Linked DNA regions of Homo sapiens: regions 2, 3 and 4 are each linked to region 1. Evidence: promoter capture Hi-C in human tissues and cell types (Jung and others, 2019). All regions are on one chromosome and are shown on one strand. The core of a region is centred on a gene start or on the middle of the fragment in contact, and the rest is flanking DNA. Distances in the headings are between cores, read along the strand shown.

Region 1 (3,285 bases), core at 545-3,044:
GATCTTTTCTCCATCAGTGGGAATGTAAATGGTAATCAGCTCTTTGCAATATTTGCAAATCAATATCTCTTTGGGACTTAGCTGGGTTTCAGTAAAGAGAAGCACCAGGTAGATAAGAGAGGGGTCAGTATAGAGAATACATCTATAAACCTTTAAGCTGCACCAGTAAGTACAGATTGAAACAAACAAAAAAAAGAGCTTACTGTCTATCTCTAATCCCAAATAAGTAAGCACATTTATTATGTGGTTGTAACATAGAGACTGTTGTTTTAAGTGATCCTTGGAGTCCAGCATCTTAAATAATCTGGAGATCCGTGGTTATCTTAAGAAGGCTTTAAGGACCAGACATTTTTTAGAAGCGAACTCAGACTCAGTTGGCAGGGTGGCTCTCCCACCGCAGAAAGGCTACATGTTTTGTTGGGCATTGATCAGGTGCGCCGGGAGGCTGGATGCCTTGGGGGAGGAGGAAACCCACTTGGATTTCTCCTCAGCAAGGCAGCTTTGGCTCCGGTAGAATGTAAGGAAGGTTGGAATGGATTTCAACAGTCCTTTACCGCACATCTTTAAAATGAGTTTAATAGCTAGTAATTAACTCCCTCGTTTATTATTCCTTCAGCTCTGTTGAAGGCTGTACTCCCTTTTAATGTATCATCATCTGACACGAAATACAGACAAAGGTCAGATGCCACGGGAGACCCACCTTTGAGGTTTTCCTTTATACCTAATGAAAGAAAACAAACTTAGCAGTCAAGCTTGGCTGCCCTCGCAATTTACTGCCTGGAGCTGGTCTTACCGTGGTTAAAGAATGGAGGATGGGGGAAGCAAAGGAGGGATGTCTAAAAATACAACTGCTTCCAAGAGAGACATTCAAGTTCTCCGCTCAAGATGGATTAAGCCCCACTCTGAGGCTCGGAGGCTCGGATCCCACAGGCTGGGAGCGCTGTGCTGTGCCCGGTACCCAACCCAGGTCCTCGACCCCGGCCCCTCACTGGCAGGGCGGCGACCCCCTGGCCCCTGGCTTTGGTCTGCTTATTGATGTTAGCTGGAGTCACATGAGTGCAGCAGCTGGGAGTCCGCCTCTGGAAAGAAGACAGGCAGGAGCCAAGTGAGGGCAATCCTGAACTAGCTTTTTCTGGGCAGCGCATCCCGTGTAGCCAGCCCGGGAAAAAGCCTCTCACCGAACACCAGCCCGGGGCGCGGGGACTCGGGGACCCGAGGGGCGGGGAGGGGCCCCCAAGGGCTGGGGACTGGCAGAATTGCTCAAAATGGCAGCACTCTCCGCACGCAAGATCGCTCACTTACCCAGGGAGACCGAGGGAGGTCGGGGCCGGCGAACGGGCGCTCGGGCGACACAAAGGAACCATGGAGAAACTTTTTCAGCCCGAGCCGACGGCGGAGCGCAGGGACAGCGCCCCGGGGCCCCGCATCCGAGCGCGACTCAGCAGCCCCGCGGGGGCGAGCGCCCGCCCCAGGCTCGCAGTCCCCGCCGGCGCTGTGGCGGGAGCCATTTCCAAGAGTTTCCAAGAAGTGTCAGGTCCTCCGCATCCCGCATCCCGCATCCCGCCTCGGAGCCCTCCTCTCCGCCGCTCATCCTCCAGCTCCCGGCGTCCCCTAGCGCGGCGCTCCCGGGCGGGCCCCTGCGGCCGCGCCGCCGGCCCTCGCGCCTCTTTTGTGTGGCTGCGGCGCGCCGGGCTCCGCCGGGTGGAGTTGAGCCCGCGGCGGCGGCTCGGGGCGGCCGGACTGGCGGCTGTTGCTAAGAGACCGGAGCCATGACACAGGGAAATTGCGGCAGGGTGGCGGTCGGGGCCCGCCCGGCTCGGCGGAGTCGGGGGGCGCCCCCGCCCCCGCCCCCCGCCCCACCCCCTCCTCCGGCGCCCCCCCCCACGCCGCCGGCCTTCCCCGCTCCCCCGCGTCCTCCGCCGCCCGCCGCCCGTCCCTTCGGAAGCGCCGATTCCTCGGGGAGGAGGAGGCGTGAGGGGAGGCGGCGGAGGCAGCCGGCACGGGGCGCTCGGGCCGCGGGGCAGGGGGCGCGGGGTGCCTCCTCGGCCTCGGCTCTCCCCGCCCCGGGGCGCCCCGAGACCGCCGCCTGCCTCCGCGGGCAGCTTTGTTCTTCTTTCCTCCAACTACCTGTCTGAGCCGCGGGCCCCAGAGGCCCCAAAGAGAGGCCCGGAGGGTCTCCCCAGCAGCATCCGAGGGGCGCTCTCGGGGAGCTAGGGGCCAGAGTCCGCGGTCCCTCCGTGCCTGCCTCCCTCCCCTCGTGCCTCGGTCTTTTGTTGCCTCTACTCCTCGGCACGGCGCAGCCTGGGCTCTCTTCCCCCTCCCGCTTGGGAGTTTGCAGTGTGGACGCTCGGCAAGCACAGTAAGTTGTCCCCCAGCGAACTCGGGCCCGGGCGGAGTGGAGCCGCCCCCGCCGGGACGGGCGCACCGCGGGACGCTTGGAAGCCTCTGCCAGATGCGCTCGCGCTCCAGCCCCGCCGGGCTTTGTGACCAGCCTGACCGGGACCCGGCAGCTGGGGCTCCTCGGAGATCAGAATGGGCTCCGGGGCTCTTCCTTGGGCAGCCCCTCCTGCTCCTCCCCGGTGCGGTAATCAGCAAGCATTAAAAGGAAAACTATAATTCTCCAGGAATCAGGAATCAGGGTTGGAATCAGAGAGGGGAGGTGGGGGTAGGGAGGATGTCCAAACTCCCTACGTCATTTAAAAAAGAGAGAAGGCGAGAGAGAGAGAGAAAGAGATCGAGATCCTGTTTCCTAGTTCATCCCTGTCTTCTCAACTGTAAAGTAAAAATGACAGGGAAAAGAGAATTTCAAAGTGGAATTTCCCCAAAGAGTATTGAGAAAGTGAGAAAGATTTCATTTATCTATTGAAATGAGGCAGCCAGGATTCAGGAAGAAAGGAACAGAAGAGCAGATGAAGCAAGTGCTGTCTGAAATTTTGGATCCAGATAAATATTTTGGTGGTGGTGGGTGTTATATATTCTGAGTTTTGCTGCTTAGGGGTCCACAAAACCCACACAGGAGGGCTCTGCTGCCCGCAGCTCCTGTTACAAGATTGTTCCCCACATACACAGCATTCACTTGTGCTTAAATCTAGAGCAGACACTTTTCAAAAAGAACAATAAAGACAACCAATTTACAAGTTCAATGATATAAATGTGAACAGTGATCTAAGAGATGGGGATAGAGACGGTGGGGGACAGGAGGGAACGAAGCAGAAGTGTTTTCTAAAAGGCAACCCTGCATTCACCTGTTGGAAAGGTGGCCTCTGTCACCCTTTTCAAGCAAAT
Region 2 (3,285 bases), core at 259-2,758, 480 kb after region 1:
TAGTGTTTGCTAAAACATTTTATCAAGAGAGCTACAAAATAAACTCCCTGGCAATGTCTCGCCTTTTAGATGCAAGGCAACATTGAGGTCTACTTCATCCGCAAAGTCCACATTTCTTTTGTGGGATTGTGCCTAACAGGAAGTGAGTGTCAACAAATATTCGTGGGACAGATGGATACAAAAAGCTGTACAAATAAAGAAGCAAATGACCTCTTCCATGATTACAGTCAAAATTCCAAAGGGCTTCATTAAAGTCAAATCACCAGAATGGTAAACTGGAGCCTGCGTGCTGTTCTCACCACTAAGTGGTACTTCCTGCCCTTCCACAGTGAGTCCTGGTCCCAGTGAAAACACGATAGAACCAGTCACGCCCCGCCTCTCCTCATCGTAAGAAAGCTGCCCACTGAGACCATCCCACACTCGCCACCACCATTTCCCTCAACACTGCCACTTCTATTACTGGCAGTTATTGCCAGTACTAAAACATGAGGCAAAATGAAATTTCTAAAGCACCGTGAAATCTATGGAAAAATATTCAGAAGCAAAGCTTTCAATTAATTCAGTATTTAAATGAAATTCATTTCAGACACAATTCGATAAAGCCTTCATATTCTGAAGAAATTCCCAATAGTATGAAAAAATATATAGGTTTCCAAAAAGCTTCTGCTTTGGTGCATTGGGAAACTCGGGCTGCTCTTGCAGTGTAACGCAGTCTGATCTGCAGAATTAATTCAGACGTCCACACAGGAACTGCAAACCCTGACTCACAGGTGCCTTCCACTGGCGGCCACCTAGATCACTGCATCTGCCCCAGTCGATACAGGAACTCCAGTCTTTATACCTTCCAAACTTACTGTCCATATGTGGACCTAAAATGCCTCTACGGCTTGGCTCTCTCTCCCCCATTTATGGCCCCTCCATGGCTCTCCCGCCCTAAGGATAAAGTCCAGGCTGCCACGGCTTCTGAGGCACCTCCTGACCTGGCTCCCCACCTGACCAGCCGACTTCTCTTCCCAGCCAGACTGTGCTACAACCTGACTTTGTGCGCTCTCTTCTCACCTCCTACCTGGAGCCACCTTCCCACCACCTCGCTGCCCCTCAGACCTCCGTGTAAATGTCATTTCCTTGGATGCCTCCTGCAACCACCACCCCGATCCCAGGCTAGGTGAGGGACACTTCCACAGCCAGCGCTTCCCTTAGCATGACACTCAGCACTTTTCATCCTAGTTCCTTTACTTGAGCCCTCCGAGAGGGCTCTTTGTCACTGTATCTCCAGCACCTGGAATAACGTCTGGGGCACAGGAGGTCGTCAATACCAATTTAGTAAATGAGATGACAATGGCTTAACTGCAACAGTCAGGATGAGAAATAGAGAAGAACCCAAAAAGAATGGGGTGGAATCCAATAGGACCTGGTGACAGAACAGACATGGGCAATAATAAAGAAAGAAGGGCCTGGCCTGGATGTCAAATCTCCACTGGGGCAGCAATGTGAGCAGAGCCACTCAACAAGAAATAGGCAAAAGCACAAACTCAGGCGAGGGCACTAGTTTAGGTTTAGACACGCTAAAAACATGAGGTGTCCCAAAACATGTGGCTACAGTGTTGTGGCTAAGAACTCATCCCTGCCCTGCTCAAGTTGCCAGTAGCTTCCCAGCACATTAAGGAAACTCCAAACTCGTCACTGAGTCCTACAAGGCCACATATGGACTGGGTCTAGCCCCTCAAGCTCTCCGACCCCACTGTCTCAGTCTGCTTTCTCCCTGCTCGCCTCACTGGCAACAGTGGCCCTCCCACTGTCCCCAGAGGTGCCCAGCAAAATGCTCCTCAGCACCTGTGCACTCACTGCAGCCCACCTGGAGCACGGCACCCAAATCCTTGCAGGGCTTCCTGCTTCTCTTAATGTAGGTCCCACTTCAAACATCACCTCCTCCTGTCAGTCGTGAAAATTATCCACAGTAGCACCCCCTGACTCGCTGTCACATCAGTCTGTTTTAGTTTAATCACTAAACACTTGATGAAATTACACTGTCTGTTCATTTGTTTTGCATATTTGTTGTCTGTCTATCCTATCTACAGGGTACATAAAGTAAGGCCCCAGCTGCGCACAGTGGCTCATGCCTATAATCCCAGCACTTTGGGAGGTTGAAGTGGGAGGATTGCTTGGGACCAGGAGTTTCAGACCAGCCTGGGCTGGGGAGACCCCATCTGTACAACAACAACAACAAAAATTAGCTGAGTGTGGTGGTGTGTACCTGTAGTCCCAGCTACTCGGGAGGCTGAGATGGGAGGATCACTTGGACATGGGAGGTTGAGGCTGCAGTGAGCCTTGATGGCATCACTGCACTCCAGCCTGGGTGACAGAGTGAGACCTTGTCTCAAAAAACAAACAAAAAACATAGTCAGGGTCCTCAACTACTTTCCTTACTAGCATAGCCTGAGCACTTAGAACAGTGTATGGCCCTTGCTAATAGCTTATCATATCTGTTGAATGAATATCTGAATGGAGGAATGAAGGTAGCAAGATGGGATTTGTCCTCTCCTGCCCTCACACTGAAATCATTGTGTATTTACAAAAGGTGATACACAGTGCCAACTATCTAAGGACATTAGTAACGCTGACTATCACAAATTCCAGAAAGTTCTCTCAACCAAAAGCAAATAAAGCTTTGGAGGAGGGCACGGAGCACAAACAGGAAAAGGGAAAAGAGAGGAAGTGGATTTCTCTGATCCTCACCTGGCCCCCTGTCTCAAGGGTCACAAACCTGGCTGACCACCAGGAGCACTGTGTTGTATTTTGTTTATTTGCTTGGTTACAAATTCATCCATTCACATACTGAGTAACTGACAAACTCATCTCGTTCGAAAGTTAAGACCATATAAATAGGTATAGGTGAAGAAATCTTACCTCCTCTCCTGGCCGTGTCCACTTTTCTTCATACGAGTTTCCTGAGTTGGTTTTTTTAATTATTATTTGTATTATACTTTAAGTTCTAGGGTACATGTGCAGAAAGTGCAGTTTTATTACATAGGTATACACGTGCCATGGTGGTTTGCTGCACCCATCAACCTGTCACATACATTAGGTATTTCTCCTAATGCTATCCTTCCCCTAGCCTCCCAACCCTCAACAGGCCCAGGTGTGTGATGTTCCCCTCCCTGTGTCCATGTGTTCTCATTGTTCAACTCCCACTTATGAATGAGAACATGTGGTGTTTGGTTTTCTGTTCCTGTGTTAGTTTGCTGAGAATGATGGTTTCCAGCTTCATCCATGTCTCTGCAAAGG
Region 3 (3,285 bases), core at 324-2,823, 280 kb after region 1:
ATTTAAATGACAGACAAAATTTCCCAACATCAGTTACTGCCGAGGCTGTGGAGCTCCTGAAGCATTCATACCAATGTCGGCAGGGGTGTAAAATTGCACAACCACTTTCAATAATGTTATACTACTTTTTAAAGAAGCTTAAACCGTGTGCCTACCCTGTGACTCCTAGTAATTCCAACAAAAGTGATGAAAATATAAAGTTGTGTAAACAAATGCCCCTTGCAGTTTTATTCATAATAGCCCAAACCTGAAAACAACCCAAATGCCCAACAGGTGAACATTCATTCACAAACAAGTGTGCAATGTCCATAAAACGAATGCTAGTTCAGCAATAAAAAGGGATAAACTGTTTACACATGCATGAACATGGGAACAACAGACTTCATGTTGAGCAATGAGGCAGACACAACAGTGCATGCTGCATGACCCCACTGATAGGAAATCTGACAACAGGCAATAGAAACCAGGTCCATGGTTGTCTGGGAGAAGGATGGGAGCAGGACTGGCTGAGAAGGAGCACAAAGGAAGCTTCTGTGTTGTTGGAAGTGTTCTACATCTCGACTGGGATGGTGGCTATGCAGGATATATTATACATTTTTCAACACTCATCAAAATGCGTGCATGAAATCTGTACATCTTATCATTTGCAAATTACATCTCAATATAGTTACTTTATTTAAAACATTTCTACATTCAGCTGCTGTCACATGTGGCTGCTCTGTCTCCTACTATCTTCTACTGATGGCGATGTTGCAGTGCTCAAGACATAGCCAGGCACCCTAGGACTGTCAGTACCAGGCCACTGAATATTCAAGGTGTGAACAGGCAACACTGGTGTTCCTTTTTGGAATGATGCCTCCTGCTCTGGAATTACCAATAGGAAGAAGTTTGTGTAAGTCCATATAATGGAGTGAAGAAGAAATAAATTTCCCAAGCTTCAACTAATTTCAATGCCCTTCCCCTTTTAAGTCTGGGGTGCAATTTTTTTATGTTTCAAAAGCAAGGAAGTTGTGTCAAAGCACAAACAGGACAGGACAAATACCCCAGCAAGGTCCTGCTTTGAGGAGTTAGGTCTTTCTATTTTAACTATTGTGGTGGACCTGGGAATCCGACTGCAGAATTAGGTCTCAACTGAAGAAGTGAAAAAAAAAATCTTTTTCAATTTTTTTTGACAGCAGGTACAATATTTTTACATACCCTATTCAACATTTTCCTCTTATGTTCATTAATAAATATTAAATTATCATTTCCAGGATTGTCTATAACTGCTTACAATGAAACCATGGAAATTAAAAATAGCCTCCCAATCCAATGATGTGATTCTCCCCTCCCCAACAAGGGCTGTCTAAACTCTGAATTTATAATCAAAATCTGTGCCTATGTAGAATACATCCTTATGAAAGATATTTTCATATCTTTGGATCATATCTTTGGATCTGTGGAATAAAAATCCGATTTAAAAAATTCTAACCAGATGGTCAAGTTAATAGAGGAGACTGGCATTTTAAGTCTATTTACCAAGAGTCCTTTTGTAAAGCAAAGCCTCATTTTGAAAACCAAATCATCTCAACATTATATTTCATACATTTATTATTTTTCACATATCTGGGTTTGCATAAAATAAACATGTAGACCCTTCTTGCTCAAGCTTTGATAAACTAGAAAACAAAGGTCAGATCACTGAATCAACCACTGTCTCAAGTTCTTATCCTTCAACAGACAGGAATGTGTCCTAATGGTATTAACGTTACACATTAGCTATTAAAGAGCGGTAAGAAATAACTTGGAAATTTAAAAGTTAGATCAGCATATTAAAAACAACAACAACAAGGAAAAACTCCTTGGCATAAATCCCACACTTCCAGCCGTCTGCACCAACACAGTCTCTGCTTTTCCTTATCTTTACTTCCCAATGCCCACAGTAGGACTTGCCCTGAGCCCCTTAAATGTACCCCAACGCCTCAGTCATGTTCGCTGCTCCCATGGCACTTAGCCCTGTGTCTCACAGATTTTAAAGGCTCAAAGCCCATTGTCTGAATAAGATGCAAGACAGTAATCACATCTTCTCATTGTTCTTTTGGGCAATTGGAAGACGAGGAAGTTATTATAATACCTAGGAACATTGGGGCTAAATTGAATGCTCAGTCACAATAATTTTATTAGCCTAAGTGACTATTACATTGTTTTATTTTGCTATAAACCTTTTTTAAATTTTTAATTTCCACTTTAATAGGCTTATTGGATACGTTTGTTTTACTGTCAGAGTCCTCAAATCTATTTTACATGCTTATGGCAAACAAATTGTAAGCGCAGACATGATGTTAACTTCTTCAGAAACAGCCTGTATTGTGCCTGAACTCTTCTAGCTTTAATTTAATACATTTTGAGTTAACTAGGCTTAAGTTTCATTCTAGAGAGGAGAACTGGGTTTTAATATGTTTTCCTGATACCTATTGCTCATAACTATTGGTGCTAATAAGATTATAGTTCATCTTACTTCCTGTGATGCCAGGCTCTGGGCTCTGTTGAGGGATGGCAAAGGTGGGTTCAGGGATAGTACTGAGGCAAGACATCTGCCCTGCTGTGGGGCAAGAATGCTTGCACCGTGCCTTTACAGAATACTATCATAATCCAAGAGCAAGAGTGTTGGGTATGGCAGGGGACACACTTTTATTGTACACATATATTCCAGGGATAGTTGTAATGTGTGTGTGTGGACACACATACACAGACATGGCACAGCCACAGCTCACTGCAGCCTCAAACTCCTGGGCTCAAGTGATCCTCCTGCCTCCCAAATAGCTGGAACTACAGGCGCATGCCACCACACCACACCACTCAATTATTTTATTTTGTTTTTTTGTAGAGTCAAGGTCTTGCTATGTTGCTCAGGTTGGTCTCAAACTCCTGTTCTCAAGTGATCCTCCTGCCTCAGCCTCCCAAAGCTCTGGGATTACAGGCATGAGGCACTGAGTGCGGCCCTATATAGCGCCTCATTTAATGTTCACAGTACTATTTTAATAGATGATTAATAGGGGCCTCACAGATGTTAAGAGGTTTGCCAAGATCATAAGCCAGTAAATGGCAAAAACAGACTTAACCTGAGAACAGTTTACTGAGAGAACCATGCAAGAAAATAAATCAGGAAAACAATATAACTGACTAAATGAGGGATATAGTCCAGAGCTACCCATACTTTTCCACAGTAAACATTAACTCCACATTCAGTCCATCTGCTTGCAGACAAGGGTAATGAAGGAGAGAGCATGAAGGAAAGGAAAAATA
Region 4 (3,285 bases), core at 274-2,773, 260 kb after region 1:
ACTCTTAAAACTGCTGATTACTTGCTTGCTGTAATTTGGAAGAACAAGTACTAAAGATTCCTTGTGAAATTCTCTTTAAAACAGAATGAAATTGAAAATGTGCTATTACCTGGTTAGGCTAACAATATTTTTTCCTCGGAATGACATCCATCCATCATCATATTAATTGCTTCACATCTGGCCAAAAAATTGCATTAACTTTTATTTTATAATCTAAGTGAATTTCCATCTCTGAATAAAATTTTTCTAATTCCACAGAGTTTCAATGCTCATAAAAGATGGCATTATTAATCATTCATTGCTTAGTGTAGATTAAGAATTTTATCTCACTCATCAGGATAAACAATGTACCAGCCATATGGTGTATTTACAAGTCATTCTGTTGTATTTATATACGTGCAGTATATTAAATGAAATTGGATAAAAATGAACTATACCTTTTATCAAGTTATGTGCTATTATGCCTGTTTATGTTTAACTGTTAAATAAATTAGCAATGTTCTCAAAGTCATTAATATAAATTACAAAGGATATATATATTTTAGTTTGTATTATTACTCTATTAATATACACTTTAACTTCATAATGATAATTTAATTTACTTTGTAATCAAGCATTATAATTACTTCCAAATAAAAATCAAACAGAAGCTAAAGAAAGAACAATGACACAATTATTTAGACATGGAAGCTAGCTAAGAAATCTCATTTTTCTGCCTATCAACTTCCTATTTAGGAAAGTTTCCTTGGTCACTTAGGGAGGGTTATTCTTGGCCTGTGTCTCTCCTACTAGGCTTGACTAGACCAATTCCATAGCTACTACTCAAGAACTCACTCACTCCATTAAGGTGGCAGGCGAGAGCCCAAGGTGGCCTCTACAGATGCATGTTGGTTTTGCATTATGTGACTAACCAACACATTATAGAGAGAAGAATATATAGACAAATGTTTTTTGGAAGTCAGACCATGGAAAAACACTAAGAGATACCACCGTCCTTCCATTCATGAAGCTTATGGTTTCATAAGAACTAATGACAACTGAGATGATTACATATTGTATTTTGCACTGCGGAGATAAGGAAGTGGTCAAATGAAAAATAATAGTGATTGCTATTCTTTAGATAATATGGCCCATGGAGGCCTTTCTAAGAAGGGACCATTCAAGATGTATTCTAAAGGGTGAGAAAGAGCCATCTGGTAGAAGAGCAGATAGACCATTCTGAACAGAGAAGACAGCATATATATACAAAGGCCTTAGGGTGGAAAGAGTTTGTGTTCACCAATTGAGAGAAAGGAATAAGCGTAGTGAATGAGAGGCTTAAGGAAGACAAGGAGGCAAGAGGTGTGTATGTGCACACTCCTCTCTTCTGTTTTCATTTACTCCCCCTCTGTTTTCATTTACCCTTCCTTCATGCTGGCATTGGAGTGGGCATCTATTTATAAATAGGAGGTCTTAAAACAAGGCTGTGGCAATACTAAGGGACAGCTGTACATCTGTAGAAAGAGATCCCACATGGCTACTTACACATGGTAGAAGGTCAGTGGCCAAGTTAATGAGCCCAAGGCTGTACTTCCATTTCAGCACAGCCTGTGTGGTACATGGAGGGGACCCAGAAGTTCTTACGTGCCTCAGTAAGGAAGCACGGGGTCTCTAAAAGGGCTGGTAGGTGAGCAGAAATCTGGTGTCAAGATATAAAAGCCACATACAGAGTGGCTTGGGGATTAGAGCAAACAGCTCTTCCTCCTTGGAGGAAGGATCTTGAGCAAGACCCATCAGGGATGTCTCTTTATGAAAAGGTAAGGCTCCATCTTCCTGGGAAGAGTGTGCCCTGTGAGCTGCTGATGATCAGGAATGATGTGAAGTCACTGCAGGCGACCCAGGTATGAGGCTATGCTGCAATGTCATCTATTTTTGGGCTTTGCTGCCCTCTTCCCCTCATGCCTCATGCAGCATTGCTGATGCTGCAAAACAGAGGATACCATCCCTTGCTGGAAACCCAACCTCAGCACTTCCATAGGCCTCGCCCCAGGTTGGGACCTCTCACTGGCTGGGTTACCCACTTTTCTGTTCAGAGACGGGATAACCAGAGGGCAACACATCTGATTATAAAAGTGCATATTGCAGGGTTTAGGCAAGTAAGAATACATTCTGACCAGGACCAGAGACCCCACTCTGGCTCTAACAAGCTGTGTGAATCATTGAGTTGCCTCACCTCTGGATGAGAGGTTTGGATCTGATAAGTCCTAGGATTCCATCAGTTTCATATTCCACACCCCTATCTTTGGTGACTAGGATAAGAGAAGATGAATCGAAACACCTCTCCTGCATCTATTTATATCTATACCCAAGCTGAGCGAGCAGCTTTGTTCTTCTTAAGTTGGAGATGCAAAGTGTTCCCATCATAAACAAGAGCCCAGCTTAATCTGACGCGATGGTCCCTGCACGGGAGGCTCCAGGGCATGCCACATGGCTCTCCCTGAAGGGCCAGCACCACCAGGCCACTCCATACCCCACCAGCCCTTGTCGCGGCACCTCAGTTTTTTGTCATTTCATAACAAACACTTTATATATACCCTGGTGAGAAAAGTCTGTTAGTTACTAAGTGGTGCAGCCAAATCTGCATTTAATTAAAAAATGAATATTTTGTCTCAAGCTATATCTATCTTATTAGAAGCACTGGGACATGTCACATTTTTATTTTGTTGTTTTTATTCCTACTTTAAAACATTTAAAAGCATTTCTACATAATCAAATATTTTATTCTGCATTGTTTAGCTCTGATTTCTGAAAGAGTGTTTAAAACAAGGGCTGAAGGGGCAGGAAGGGTGACGTAAGTACAGCCGTTCTCATCCACAGCATGGAGAGTCATGCAGTCCTGGGGGGCTGCCCTGCTGGTGGACTGGCACATTCCATCCTGGAGCCTTCACCAAGTGTTTCCGGACATGAGCTAAGCACCTGCAAGAGCTACAGAGGTTCCACAGAGTGAGGAGCAAGGGTGAAAATACAAAGACCCCACCCTAGGGGATCTCCTGGATTAAAAGAGGAGCCGGCGTTCATTCCCTTACTCAGTGACTACCTTTTGTGTTGCAAGTCAGCAGTGTTTGGAGTCAGGAGTGTTCGGAGTCAGTGTTGCAAGTCAACAGTGTTGCAAGTCAGCAGTGTTACAAGTCAGGAGTGTTCGGAGCCAAAACCTTGTTTAATCTCACAGGCCTGCAGATTCCAGAGGTCATGGAACTCATCCAAACGCACAGAGTTGGCCAGGGGCGGTGGCTCACGCCTGTAATC

What was found. The method cuts DNA at HindIII sites, captures the fragments that hold promoters and counts their contacts. A contact is called where the count stands out against the background at its distance.
Region 2: a fragment that was not itself captured here is called in contact with the fragment with the promoter of TMEM200C in region 1 in 1 of the 25 tissues and cell types used here (hippocampus).
Region 3: a fragment that was not itself captured here is called in contact with the fragment with the promoter of TMEM200C in region 1 in 5 of the 25 tissues and cell types used here (H1 embryonic stem cells, IMR-90 fibroblasts, dorsolateral prefrontal cortex and 2 more).
Region 4: a fragment that was not itself captured here is called in contact with the fragment with the promoter of TMEM200C in region 1 in 2 of the 25 tissues and cell types used here (H1 embryonic stem cells and small bowel).

Annotation. Positions count from the first base shown.
Region 1 is chr18:5,893,728-5,897,012 of GRCh38, forward strand. TMEM200C (transmembrane protein 200C) reads right to left here and starts at 1,795. Exons shown (of 2, transcript NM_001395400.1): 1 at 1,303-1,795. All of the region lies in intron 9 of MIR3976HG (MIR3976 host gene), which reads left to right. LOC121725015 (a long non-coding RNA gene) reads left to right here and starts at 2,000. Exons shown (of 3, transcript NR_172505.1): 1 at 2,000-2,359. The HindIII fragment of the contact is 12,914 bases long and covers 1-3,285 here.
Region 2 is chr18:6,374,359-6,377,643 of GRCh38, forward strand. The region is part of intron 1 of L3MBTL4 (L3MBTL histone methyl-lysine binding protein 4); the gene reads right to left. MIR4317 (microRNA 4317) reads right to left here and starts at 67; the gene lies at 3-67. The HindIII fragment of the contact is 4,980 bases long and covers 1-3,285 here.
Region 3 is chr18:6,176,957-6,180,241 of GRCh38, forward strand. All of the region lies in intron 12 of L3MBTL4 (L3MBTL histone methyl-lysine binding protein 4), which reads right to left. Among named protein-coding and RNA genes, the nearest start is that of L3MBTL4-AS1, 78 kb to the right of the region's middle. The HindIII fragment of the contact is 4,893 bases long and covers 1-3,285 here.
Region 4 is chr18:6,157,195-6,160,479 of GRCh38, forward strand. All of the region lies in intron 13 of L3MBTL4 (L3MBTL histone methyl-lysine binding protein 4), which reads right to left. Among named protein-coding and RNA genes, the nearest start is that of L3MBTL4-AS1, 98 kb to the right of the region's middle. The HindIII fragment of the contact is 6,349 bases long and covers 1-3,285 here.